Linked DNA regions of Homo sapiens: all the other regions are linked to region 1. The links are contacts of gene promoters, found by promoter capture Hi-C in human tissues and cell types (Jung and others, 2019). All regions are on one chromosome and are shown on one strand. Each heading gives the region's core, a stretch centred on a gene start or on the middle of the fragment in contact. The rest is flanking DNA. Distances are from core to core; before and after follow the strand shown. Region 1 holds the start of CLN5 (CLN5 lysosomal BMP synthase). Region 2 overlaps MYCBP2 (MYC binding protein 2). Region 3 has its middle 250 kb from the start of KCTD12.

The links. Contacts are between HindIII fragments. The study calls those that stand out against the background at their distance.
Region 2: a contact is called between a fragment that was not itself captured here and the fragment with the promoter of CLN5 in region 1, in 2 of the 25 tissues and cell types used here (dorsolateral prefrontal cortex and lymphoblastoid cells).
Region 3: a fragment that was not itself captured here is called in contact with the fragment with the promoter of CLN5 in region 1 in 1 of the 25 tissues and cell types used here (mesenchymal stem cells).

Annotation. Positions count from the first base shown.
Region 1 is chr13:76,990,321-76,993,978 of GRCh38, forward strand. It overlaps CLN5 (CLN5 lysosomal BMP synthase), which reads left to right and starts at 1,761. Exons shown (of 4, transcript NM_006493.4): 1 at 1,761-1,951. The coding sequence starts at 1,779. RefSeq lists silencers at 1,095-1,184, 1,275-1,344, 1,805-2,044 and an enhancer at 2,066-3,265. The HindIII fragment of the contact is 12,191 bases long and covers 1-3,658 here.
Region 2 is chr13:77,286,246-77,290,039 of GRCh38, forward strand. MYCBP2 (MYC binding protein 2) reads right to left here. Exons shown (of 83, transcript NM_015057.5): 3 at 1,916-2,131. The region is part of intron 2 of LOC124903184 (a long non-coding RNA gene); the gene reads left to right. Among named protein-coding and RNA genes, the nearest start is that of MYCBP2, 39 kb to the right of the region's middle. The HindIII fragment of the contact is 3,391 bases long and covers 707-3,794 here.
Region 3 is chr13:76,638,363-76,642,103 of GRCh38, forward strand. No RefSeq gene overlaps it. Among named protein-coding and RNA genes, the nearest start is that of KCTD12, 250 kb to the right of the region's middle. The HindIII fragment of the contact is 9,343 bases long and covers 1-3,741 here.

The DNA of each region.
Region 1 (3,658 bases), core at 511-3,010:
CCATCTACTGTTAATTGTCCTTTTAGTAGCCAAGACATGAAGTACCTATCTCCCTTCTTTGTATTTGGTGAAAAGATTTGAACTCGAGCCATCTCTGCTAAAGGCATGACTTTAGTCACCCCACTGCAGTTGCTTCTCTTTGCCTCCAAGAAAGTCCAATCTGATGGGCAGATTGTGCTTGCAGATGACTGGATTAAACTGCAAATATCTCATGAAGCTGCTGCCTGCATCACCGCTCTCCAGGCAGCCACGGAGGCTCTGGTTGTTGAGGCCATCTACTGTGGCCCTCATACATCATACTGTGTATGGTTCCAGGATTTGTAAATGCTCTAATCAATGTTTTTTTTTTTTTTTAAAGCTGTTCCTGCTGATTGCTTTTTAAGCTAGGCTCAAGTGTGGGGCCACGGAATCCTTCAGGTGCCCTTCAAATCAGACATTACATTTCAGCTCTCAGGGCTAGAATGCTTCCCCCTCTTATCTTGGGCAGGTCTTTGAAGAAGCCAGTTTAGCCTTGGTAATTTTGAATTTGGCCATAGTATACGGAGGAGAGCTAGGTAGCTATCAAAACGCTTAGACAAACGTATGGTAAAATGCAGCCCAGCCTGAACCTCCGCAAAACCCCCAAACCTGGAGCAGCAAGTGGGCAAAGGAGTGTGTGTTTGGGGCAGGGTACTGAGTCCCATATGTAATCAAGAGACCTGGAGGGCCCAAGGAAGTCAGTGACACCCCCACAAGCTACATATCCTCCAATGGATTGTGGTGGTCATCTCCGGCTACCGAAGCCACCTTGCTTATTCCCATAGGCTTACAAACATTATGATGCTTCACACGAGTTGTGGGTGAAGTGAAGGAATTGGAAAGTCCCGGTCTAAGGCCCTGCAAAACTGCTGTCTGGTAAAAACAAGTGACTATGGCAAGGCCCTGAATGTACTACGTATAGACTTAAGTCAGTATTTGTGCCTAACAGCAAAGCATGCCACAAGAGGCTCCTCAAAAGCCGGGTAATTGATGCCATTGTTTTCTTGACCTAGTTGAAGAGTCAAAGAAGAGAAGGTGATGCAGAAACTTCTTTCCAGTGAAGTGACAGATCCAAGCAAGGAACACCTGCCTGTGAGGGGAGCGGTAGGGGAGGGGGTAGATTCGGCAGCACTCGGGTAGTGGCAGGGACCACATATTGTCGGTGTTAACCACTGTTATCACTGGCCCAGGTCGAGTGAGGACGAGTCATTTCCCCACTAAGCACTTGGGGAGTGGCAGGGACCACATATTGTCAGTGTTAACCACTGTTATGACTGGCCCAGGTCGGGTGACGACGAGCCATTTCCGCACTATTGTCCCTTCTTCCTCACTGCACCCCCAGCCCTGCACCCTCAGCTCCAAATACACATTCTCGTTCACTCAACGTTTGTTGACACCTAGCGTGGGCCCTGTGGGATGGGGTAAAAGTTCGGTGTTGGGAGGAGCCCCGGTGACAGATTTTTGGTTTTGGTGGTGGCTTTTGGGCAAGGACAGGTCAATTCATAAAAGATGACGCCCCAGGTCTGGATCGAATTCTCCTGGGAGCCAGACCAAAGCACCTTCCTGGACTGCAAAGTGTGGAAGCCGCCGCGGGCCGGGCGCGGGGAGGTGTCATGCGCCGGAACCTGCGCTTGGGGCCAAGCTCTGGAGCTGACGCGCAGGGGCAAGGCGCCCCGCGTCCCGGACTGGCGGCTCCGCGCATGCTCCTCCCACCGGCGTCGCAGGCCTCGAGAGGCTCCGGAAGTACTGGGTGCAGCCTGATGGCGCAGGAGGTAGACACGGCACAGGGCGCCGAGATGCGGCGGGGCGCGGGCGCGGCTCGGGGACGCGCTTCCTGGTGCTGGGCCCTGGCGCTGCTTTGGCTCGCGGTGGTTCCGGGCTGGTCCCGGGTCTCGGGCATCCCCTCCCGGCGCCACTGGCCGGTGCCCTACAAGTGAGTGCGGCGGCGCGCGCACTGTCGGGGTTGGGGTCGGCGTTGACGATGGGGGATGGGGTGCTGGGGCGGGGACCCCTGCTCACCGTGGTTTGTGTCGGGTCACGAGATGGTGCGGGGACAGCGCCGGGTGACGCTCGGAGCGCACTTGAGAGCAAAGTTGAGGACTGGGGAGTCGCAGCCGCTCGTTACGTGCAGCCCTGGGACCTTTCGTCCCCTCTGGTCACTTGCGGCAGACTCAGGACAGTCCTGAATCGTGGAAGAAGAAAAGGAGAGTAATGTTATTTAATGGAGGGACTTCTGGGTACAAGTAGCTGATTTCTTGAGTAGTTTAAAAACACTGTCTATCGCATTTATTTATATCATGCACTGTCGTTAGTTATTACCGCGGAACATTTGGTACAATTTACTGGGCGACCAACTCGCTCTGGTTTGAACCTGATCAGAACCTGATCCGAAGTCCTTATTGGGACTTCCCAGTTTTGCCCTCAAAAGTCGCGCATCCCGGGAATCCCCGTCTCCTGCAGTCCTGGTTAGACCGGGAAGATTGTCACCGCTTTTGTCCAGTCTTCAGCCTGGAGGTAGGACGCCGGTCCTAAGTCGGGGACAGAGCCCGCACACCTGGGAGGTCGATTCCAGCCTTTGACAGAGAAGACACAGCCTCCGGCGGTCAGAGATAGCTAAACACAGAGAAAGAAAACATGGTGTCAACATCAGGCAGGAGAAAGACCAGCAGTTTTTGAAAACAGCTATTTTTCTTTAAACCAAAAGCATCATTGGACATAATTTTAACTTACTAGCATAAGTAATCAACAGCTAAAACTGCACACAACAAACCTGAAAAAAACAGCTATTTTGTATGACAGTATGAGTGGGAAGGAGTTCTGCCTGCTGCGGGTCAAATCTGGCTCTGTCATCACCAGGGATCTTGGGAAAGTTACTCAGAATCTCTGTGCCCACATGCCCTGAGTCAAAAAATAGGAATAGTGGTAGCACGTACCTCATAGGTTTGCTGGAAGGATTAAATCTAGTAAAATGCCAGCTGTTGTCAAACCTAGATAGTGTATTCTGCTCACTGAAATGTTTACAACACTTTTTTGTTTTGTGTGATATACTACGTGGAAAGAGAAGTTTGTGGTTGAAGCTAGTTTTCTGGAAAATGTTAATAATAAAATGTTTGTAAGAAGTCAAAATTACTCAATAGAACAAGAATTGTAAATCCAAACGATTTGATTTAACATTAGGGCAAGGTGTTGACTATGGCTTTTTAGTGGATTTTTTTTTTAAGTCTCAGATATTAAGTACGTGCTCCCATCTAATTCCCTCAATTGAATATAATATTTAAGTTTATTAAGTTCACACTTAAATTACCTTTGAACTAAAATAGATTTTGCTGTGTCAGTGAAATCTCCATGTGATTATGTATTTGTTTAAACCAGGTAAGTGCCTATAAAACACTGTACCCAAGTAGCAGAAACTTTTGGGAGCGTCGTTAATAGTTTCGATTAGCATAAAGATTTTAACTTCTTAAGTTAAAATAGAAATTTTTGTTGATTTGTTAAGATTTGTTAGATCTGGCTACAACCTTGGGGATCTAGGATTCTTAGATAGAAGCTGTTGTCGCCACCACTTCTTTCTTTCCCAGTGCCAGATTATAGGTGACCAGTGTGTCTGTTGAGCTGAATTCAGCTGCAGTGCCCCTCGAGT
Region 2 (3,794 bases), core at 1,152-3,651, 300 kb after region 1:
TGGATATGTATAAGCTTTCAAGGCATAATTTTAAGGTATCAGTTTAGTAAAAAGGCAATAGTCATAAATCATTTATAATTATAAAATCATTTTGAATAGCTCTGTTTAGAAAAAAGCAATATGCATAAGTCATATAAAGGCACCATTTAAAAATGTCTATATTTTCACCTATTCTTTTGTTGTAAATATTAACTATATCTACTATATAGAAAAAATATATATAACAGGCTGGGTGCAGTGGCTCACGCCTGTAATCCCAGCACGTTGGGAGGCCGAGGCAGGCGGATCACGAGGTCAGGAGATCGAGACCATCCCGGCTAACACGGTGAAACCCCGTCTCTACTAAAAATACAAAAAAAAATTAGCCGGGCGCGGTGGCAGGTGCCTGTAGTCCCAGCTACTTGGGAGGCTGAGGCAGGAGAATGGCCTGAACCTGGGAGGCGGAGCTTGCAGTGAGCCGAGATGGCACCACTGCACTCCAGCCTGGGCAACAGAGCTAGACTCCGTCTCAAAAAAAAAAAAAAAAAAAAAAAAAAAAAAAAAAATATATATATATATATATATATATATATAGACCTTCCAGTCTTAAATATACCAATACTTAAACAGAACAGAGTAAACTGAGAGTAGTTCTATAATACAGGTTTTTTGTTTTGGTAAATGGAGTCTAGCTCTGTTGTCCAGGCTGGAGTGCAGTGGCGCCATCTCGGCTCACTGCAAGCTCCGCCTCCCGGGTTCACGCCATTCTCCTGCCTCAGCCTCCCGAGTAGCTGGGACTACAGGCGCCCGCCACCGTGACGGGCTAAGTTTTTTTTGTGTTTTTAGTACAGACGGGGTTTCACCGTGTTAGCCAGGATGGTCTCGATCTCCTGACCTCGTGATCCGCCCGCCTTGGCCTCCCAAAGAGCTGGGATTACAGGCGTGAGCCATTACGCCCAGCCAGTTTCTTTTTTTTTTTTTGAGACAGTCTCACTCTGTCACCCAGGCCGGAGTGCAATGGCATGATCTCGGCTCACTGCAACCTCCGCCTCCTGGGTTCAAGCAATTTTCCTGCCTCAGCCTCTGAGTAGCTGGGATTATAGGCGACTGCCACAATGCCGGGCTAATTTTTGTATTTTTAGTAGAGACAGGGTTTCACCATGTTGGCCAGGCTGTTCTCAAACTCCTGACCTCAGGTGATCCACCCGCCTTGGCCTCCCAAAGTGCTGGGATTACAGGTGTGAGAGCCACTGCGCCCGGCCTACAATACATGCTTCTATTATAGAAATACCAACTAGTTTATATGCTCCTGGTAAATAAGGGAGTAATATCAGAATAATGCAGAAGTTCAGTTGGTTCATAGGTGATTTTTTTTTTTCCTAATCAAGGGAAACCACAATATCAAGAGTACAATTATAAGCTTAGGCAGAAAGGAAAAGGCTCTCAGCCCTGCTACTACACAGCTGAGAGGCTTTGTAGTTCTATTTCAAGAAAAATAAAAACGCATACCTGCATCCCAGGTGAGGAGCACCTCCCAGCTTTCCAGGGCTCTTGGCTTTCTCTTGTGCCCACCTTACTCTCGGCTCACTGGCTCAGAGCTCTACTTCCATCTGCCATGGCTCAATGCCTCTATACTAGCATTTCCACCCTACTGCTTTTGTACATTTTTTAATTGCCCCTATAACAGACTCCAACCCACTGATCTCCCTTCCTGCGCTTTCCAGTGAATTATCAATTATTGACTTTGTTAGCACCTTAGTTATAAAGTTGCAGAGTTTTCCTTTTCTGCTCCAAATCTATTTTTGCCCATAAGCCGTGTTATTTTTAGTGTGCAATTTTACATAAAGCAAAGTATTTTAGCAATGCGTATATATGCATTATAGCCAGAACACCTGCAGGTTACACATCTAAATATTAATAGAACTCAGTGGCTTACCTTTGGAAGCTTGATAGGGGGCTCTTTGGATTCCTCTTCTTCATCACTATCTGATTCTCCACTCTGCACAGAGTTCTTAGATGCGGCTGCCAATGATATTTCCTTTTTCTGCCATTCCAGAACGCAATGGCGTACATTACAGTAAATATTGAAAGCAGAAGGATTGCTATGTAGTTTGATATCTGGTATGATTACTGTATTCTCTAAGTTTTCAGACTGAAATACAAAACAGAATATTTCCATTTCACACTCTTTTCTATCATCAAGTCCCATTTTACATAAAAGTAAAGATTAGACACACTAACTGACTTGCAGAAGACACATTATGTGACACAGCAGAGACAGTCTAAGTCTATGGACCCAACTTCTAGTCCCCTTTTCTATACCTCACTATTTTTTGAGCAATGCAGCAATAACCAACCAATCTGACAAGGGCTGGAAAAGGATGGGCAAAAAACTTAGAAATATTCTTGTATCGCCATGACAGGAATAGACTCAACAAAGCTTAACTCTTAGAGTTCTGTATCAAAGGAAATTCATTTTACGACTTCCTAAGAGACTCTAGACACACTGTAGAGTCTCAATGACCTACTACAAACATTAGATTGCATTTTGAATGCTTTTAAAAGTAGATATAGAAGTTTACACAGAAATGAGGGCCTCCCAAAAAAACACTTAATTTTCATCAGCTCATTTCATTCTCATTCAAGTAACAGTAATGCCAAGTAAACTGTAGATGCTTCCCTAAGCTCTCTCTCACCTATCAGTATTGATAAAGGCTAAAAATCATGTGATTGGTAATTTGTTAAGACTAAACAGTTTCTCTTTTATGCCCAATATTTTATTCATCAGACAGCAACTACAATTTCAAGATCAACATTTATATTATAAATATAAAAAGCTGTTTTAAAATATTTTAGAAATTCAACTTCCAATAATTAGAGTATGTCCAGGAAGTATCTAAGATAAACAAAATGATACCTCAAGTACCAAAAACACTTGGTCCCAAATATTCGACTCTTCTTCCATAAAGAATTGGAAAAAAAAAATACACTTGTTAAATAAGAAATACATCAAAAAGTTAAATTGGCATGGCATATAACTTATGAATATATGTATAAGAGATATTACAAATATCTCATCCAAATATCCAGAGATATTACAAGTATTAGCTATTCAAATCCAACAATATATAAAAAAGTAATACATTATGACCAACTGAGGTTTAACCCAGGGACAATGCTGGCACAACACTGGAAAAGCAACCACTGTTGTAACAGAGAAAAAATATATTATACTTCAAATAAACACAGAAAGATCACTTGACAAAAATCCAGTATCGATTCATGATAGAAAAAAAAAAAGTCTAAGTTAGGAATAGAAGGGAATTTTCTCAACTTGATAAAGGGTATCTACAAAATAACCACAGCTAACATGGTAATAGACTGAATGCTTTCCCTCTAAGATTGTGATCCAGGCAAATTGGTCTACTCTCAGCAACTCATCAACATTGTACTGGATATCCTATCTAGTGCAAGGAAAATATCCTATCCAGCCAAGGGAAAAAGGCAAGAAGTATTTTCTAAAAAAGAAATGTTTTTACTTGTAAAAAAACATGTAGAGAATCTTAAGGAATCTGCAAAAAAGTTACCAGAAATAGTATGCAGATTTAACAAAATCACAGGATATAAAATTACTATATAAAAATGAGTAGTATATCCACATACTAGGAATGAACAACTGAAAAAATGTAATTTCAAAAATAATAGCATTGAAGTCACAGACTGGGAGAAAATATTTGCAAACCACATATCCAACAAAGGATGAGTATTCAGAATATATAAAGAATTCTCAAAAGTCAACAGTAAAAACAAACAAG
Region 3 (3,741 bases), core at 525-3,024, 350 kb before region 1:
CCTTTTTCCTTTGTCTCAGCCAAGTAGGAGGAAAAGAAAATCTCTCCCTTCCTGTCTAGCTTATATGATTTGTCCTCCTATTTAATGAATAAAAAGGAAAGAGAAACCAGAGCGTCCCCTGACCAGGTTCTTTCCCCCCTTCCCTTGTTCAAATCCCCAGATACTTATGGCTCTCCCCAGACTGCACTGTTACATCTGACACCTGCAAAATCTGCGCCGTACCCTCAGCTGGAGGCCTCTGCTAAGGTCAAGCCATGGACCTCATTGAAGAGTATAGATTCTCTGTTCAAGATAAAGTTCTTGCCTATTCTGACTCAATAAAACTTCATTGATTTGCCTAAATCCCACCTCCCTAAATTGAGGAAAGGCTTGGTCTTATAATAAGAGGAAATGGAGCACTTCTCATATCCCAAAAATTTGTCTCCTTGTCCCTAGCTTACCAATAATATTAACCTACCTAAGCGTGTGTGCCTGAAAGGAGATGGCCAGGATGAAGGTATGGAACAGAAGTCAAAAGGAGCCTCTGGCAGGTGTGTTTGACATGGTGCAGGAGAGGTGGGTGCTGTTCACCAGACTGTTTCAGAGGAAGTGGCAACTCATCAGCTCTTGTAGGGAAGGGAGTCACAGGGAATCACCCTCCTCACTTCCAGCCTACCTTCTTCTATCCTTCCTCTCTCTTCAGACTCACGAGGTACTCTGGTGACTGGACTGGCTTCCCAAGAATCACCAGAAAGGAATGCCTTCCTCCCAGAGCTTTAATTTCTGCTTCTAGTTTCCATGACTGACCGATGGTGTTGTGACTGGTGTCAGTTCATCTCTGAGATCGTGATGTGTCTAGAAGTACTGATAATGCTGAGGTCTTGGAGCTGTGGGAATGAAAACTGAATATCCTGTCTCACTTAAATATATTTACCAAGGTTAGGTGGCCTTAAAGACAAGAAGCCTATTGATGAAAAGCCAATGACACGTTGGCCTCTCAGAACAAACACTTCCCTTCAAAGGTCACCAAATAACACCAAATATAAACTTTAACTAATCAACCTCTTCCAATCCCTTCTTTCCTTGCTTTATCCTTTAACTCTCCAGGTTACTCACCATTCCACTAACATGCCAAGAACATGCACATCCCTACCCCTTTCTAAAACTGTTACTGCTCTCTAGAATTCCTTATGACTGACAGTCTCCAGGAAGTAATGGGGAACAGAACTTTTGAGGAGAGCTTCCATAATGCCTAGTCCAAATGGGTGGAAGGAAGGTGGTACCATTAAGTGAAGTGAGATATAGACAGGGTGAGGGGCAGATCTGGGAGGCAGCAAAGCATGGTGGGGATAATTGGTTCAGGGCCCTGTGGTCTTTAAAGTATCTATGAAATATTTCAGAAAAGATATATGCAGCAAATAGCCCAGGCAGAGGTTGGAAATGGTGACTGATACATGAGAACCATTAAAATAAAGCTGTGATTGATGAAAAGATTTCCAAAGGAATAAGAGTAGAAAAAAATAAATAAGAATGAGGACAGAGGCTTAACATACAAAAATAGGGCACAAAAATGTAAGCAGCATAACAAAATCCACTCAAGAAAACAGACAAACAGGAGAACCAGACTTCCCAGTCACAGAAGCCAATGGGGTATCCAAAAAGTAGAATCAACAGTTTGAAGAAATACCAAGACCGTAAGCAACAGAAGAACTGAAAAAAAATTACTAGACAGGAGAATTTAGAGATAGAGGAAAACTTGAGTAGGATGCAGCATAGTTAACTGTGGAGCAGAACTGCCTGGGTTTGCATCCTGCCACATCCTTGCTAGCTGTGCCAACCTGGGCCAGTTCTTTACTCTACCTCTGCCTTAGTGCCTCATCTGTAAAATGGAGATTATGATAGTGCCTATTTCAGAGAGTTGGCATGAGGATCCTGTGAGTTACCATATTTAAAGTACTGATACCACCACCTGACACAAGCTCTATGTGACTATTTGCTGCTATTATTTAATATTATGACATTTCAAGGAACCACAATATATATTGTGGTTATATATATTATACTCTAAAAAGAGTTTCAATAAACTGAAGGAAAGAGATAGAGCACTATCTTTAATAGGAAGATAAGCACAGCCATTTTTCCTTTTGACTTTCTCCCACATCAATACTAAGTGTGGGAGGAAGAAATATCAAATTCAGGGATAGTTGCAGCATAAATACTAGTAACACTGAAACCACAGCTCTTGTCAGATACTGGAAAACTTCAAAGTCCTTACAGATACTTCTACTGTATCTGAAAACATGGAGTAAACATCCATCTGTCTGATGGTACATTAGATACCATCAGGTACATTTTTTTAATGTACTTAAAGTACTTTTTAAAAATTTCTTCCAACTCTGTGATTATGTAATTTGGTAAATCAAGTATCTATCAATTTTAATCTTTAACTTCATCATCCATAACATGGCTTTCAGAAGTAAATATTGCATCAAAATAAACTTATGAAGTAATTTACTCTTTCCAAGGAAACATTACAGAATAATCTACACACCACATGTCATTACTTTAAGAACAAATTATGCTTCCCCAGATAATTTTGCTTTAACTCTGGCCATCAATCACCTTATAATTAGTAAAGAAAGTGGTTCTTCTCCCTAATTATGTAAATTCTTTCATCTATAAATAAAAAGTAGAAAATAAAGGAAGGATTTATTATAAGGAATATAAGGTACTTTTTTAAATTAAAAAATGAGTGTAGTTTTTAGTTTTCTCAGCATTTAGGATCATTCTGTTGGTATGGTATTCCACTGTATTCTTATTTCATAGCCTCACAAAGCTTCCATTCACATCAAAAGTATGCTCAAGACCCTAATCTTGACCATGAAAGTTCTCTTTGTCTTTACGATTACAGCTGGTAGAGCTTAGCTGGCCATCTGTTACCAATTATTCTATTTAGCATCATAGACTATATTGGCCTCCTCCACAAAGCCTTTCAAGCAAGGTTTAGTTGGAAATTTTTGTTTCTCCTTTCATTTTGAAGGAAAAAACTAAGTTAACAGAAGTTTTTTTTTTTTGCAAGACAATTAATAAATTATATTTAGAAAGTAAAACAACCAGGACTGTCACAAACAAGTTACCAATTGAACACCGCATTCCAGTTTGTGCCCAGTTAGGTGTGCTAGGTACTGCAAAGTTGTGGTTTGCCAATTTTTCTATGTCATGCTCCACCTGCCATCCTATCAAACAATCTTAGTGTCTCCATGGCTTTCTTTTTAAAGTACATGTTTGGACTTCTAAAAATTTGTGTCAAATTTTAATAACTTAAATAAGTTGAGCAGTAGATGAATCTGCTGTTTGATAACCTCTAATGTAAGGAAAATAAAAACTGTAAGAGTGAAGTCCCTGTTTGTAAGAATATAGGCTTAACTTGGGAAGGAAAACTAACAAAGATGGAATGATTAGATTATCAGCAAAGTATGAAGCAGTGGGAAACTGTCCATAAATGCAATGAGAGTGGAAAAAAGGGAGGTCAACCATGAGCAGAAGTAAACATTCACCTTATTGGAAAGGAATTAAGGATGAGAAGAAGGGCTTTCTATGGTAGGAAAACAACTTGAGAGGAAAATCCCGGCAATATTTTTGCCAAGAGAGGGCCCAAACAGGAGCCTCGGAAGATTTCCAGGAACTAGTTCAAGCAACATCCTTTAAATGGGTCACTTTCAGTCCACAAACTTCTTTTCGTCTAGAACAGTAGAGTTTAAT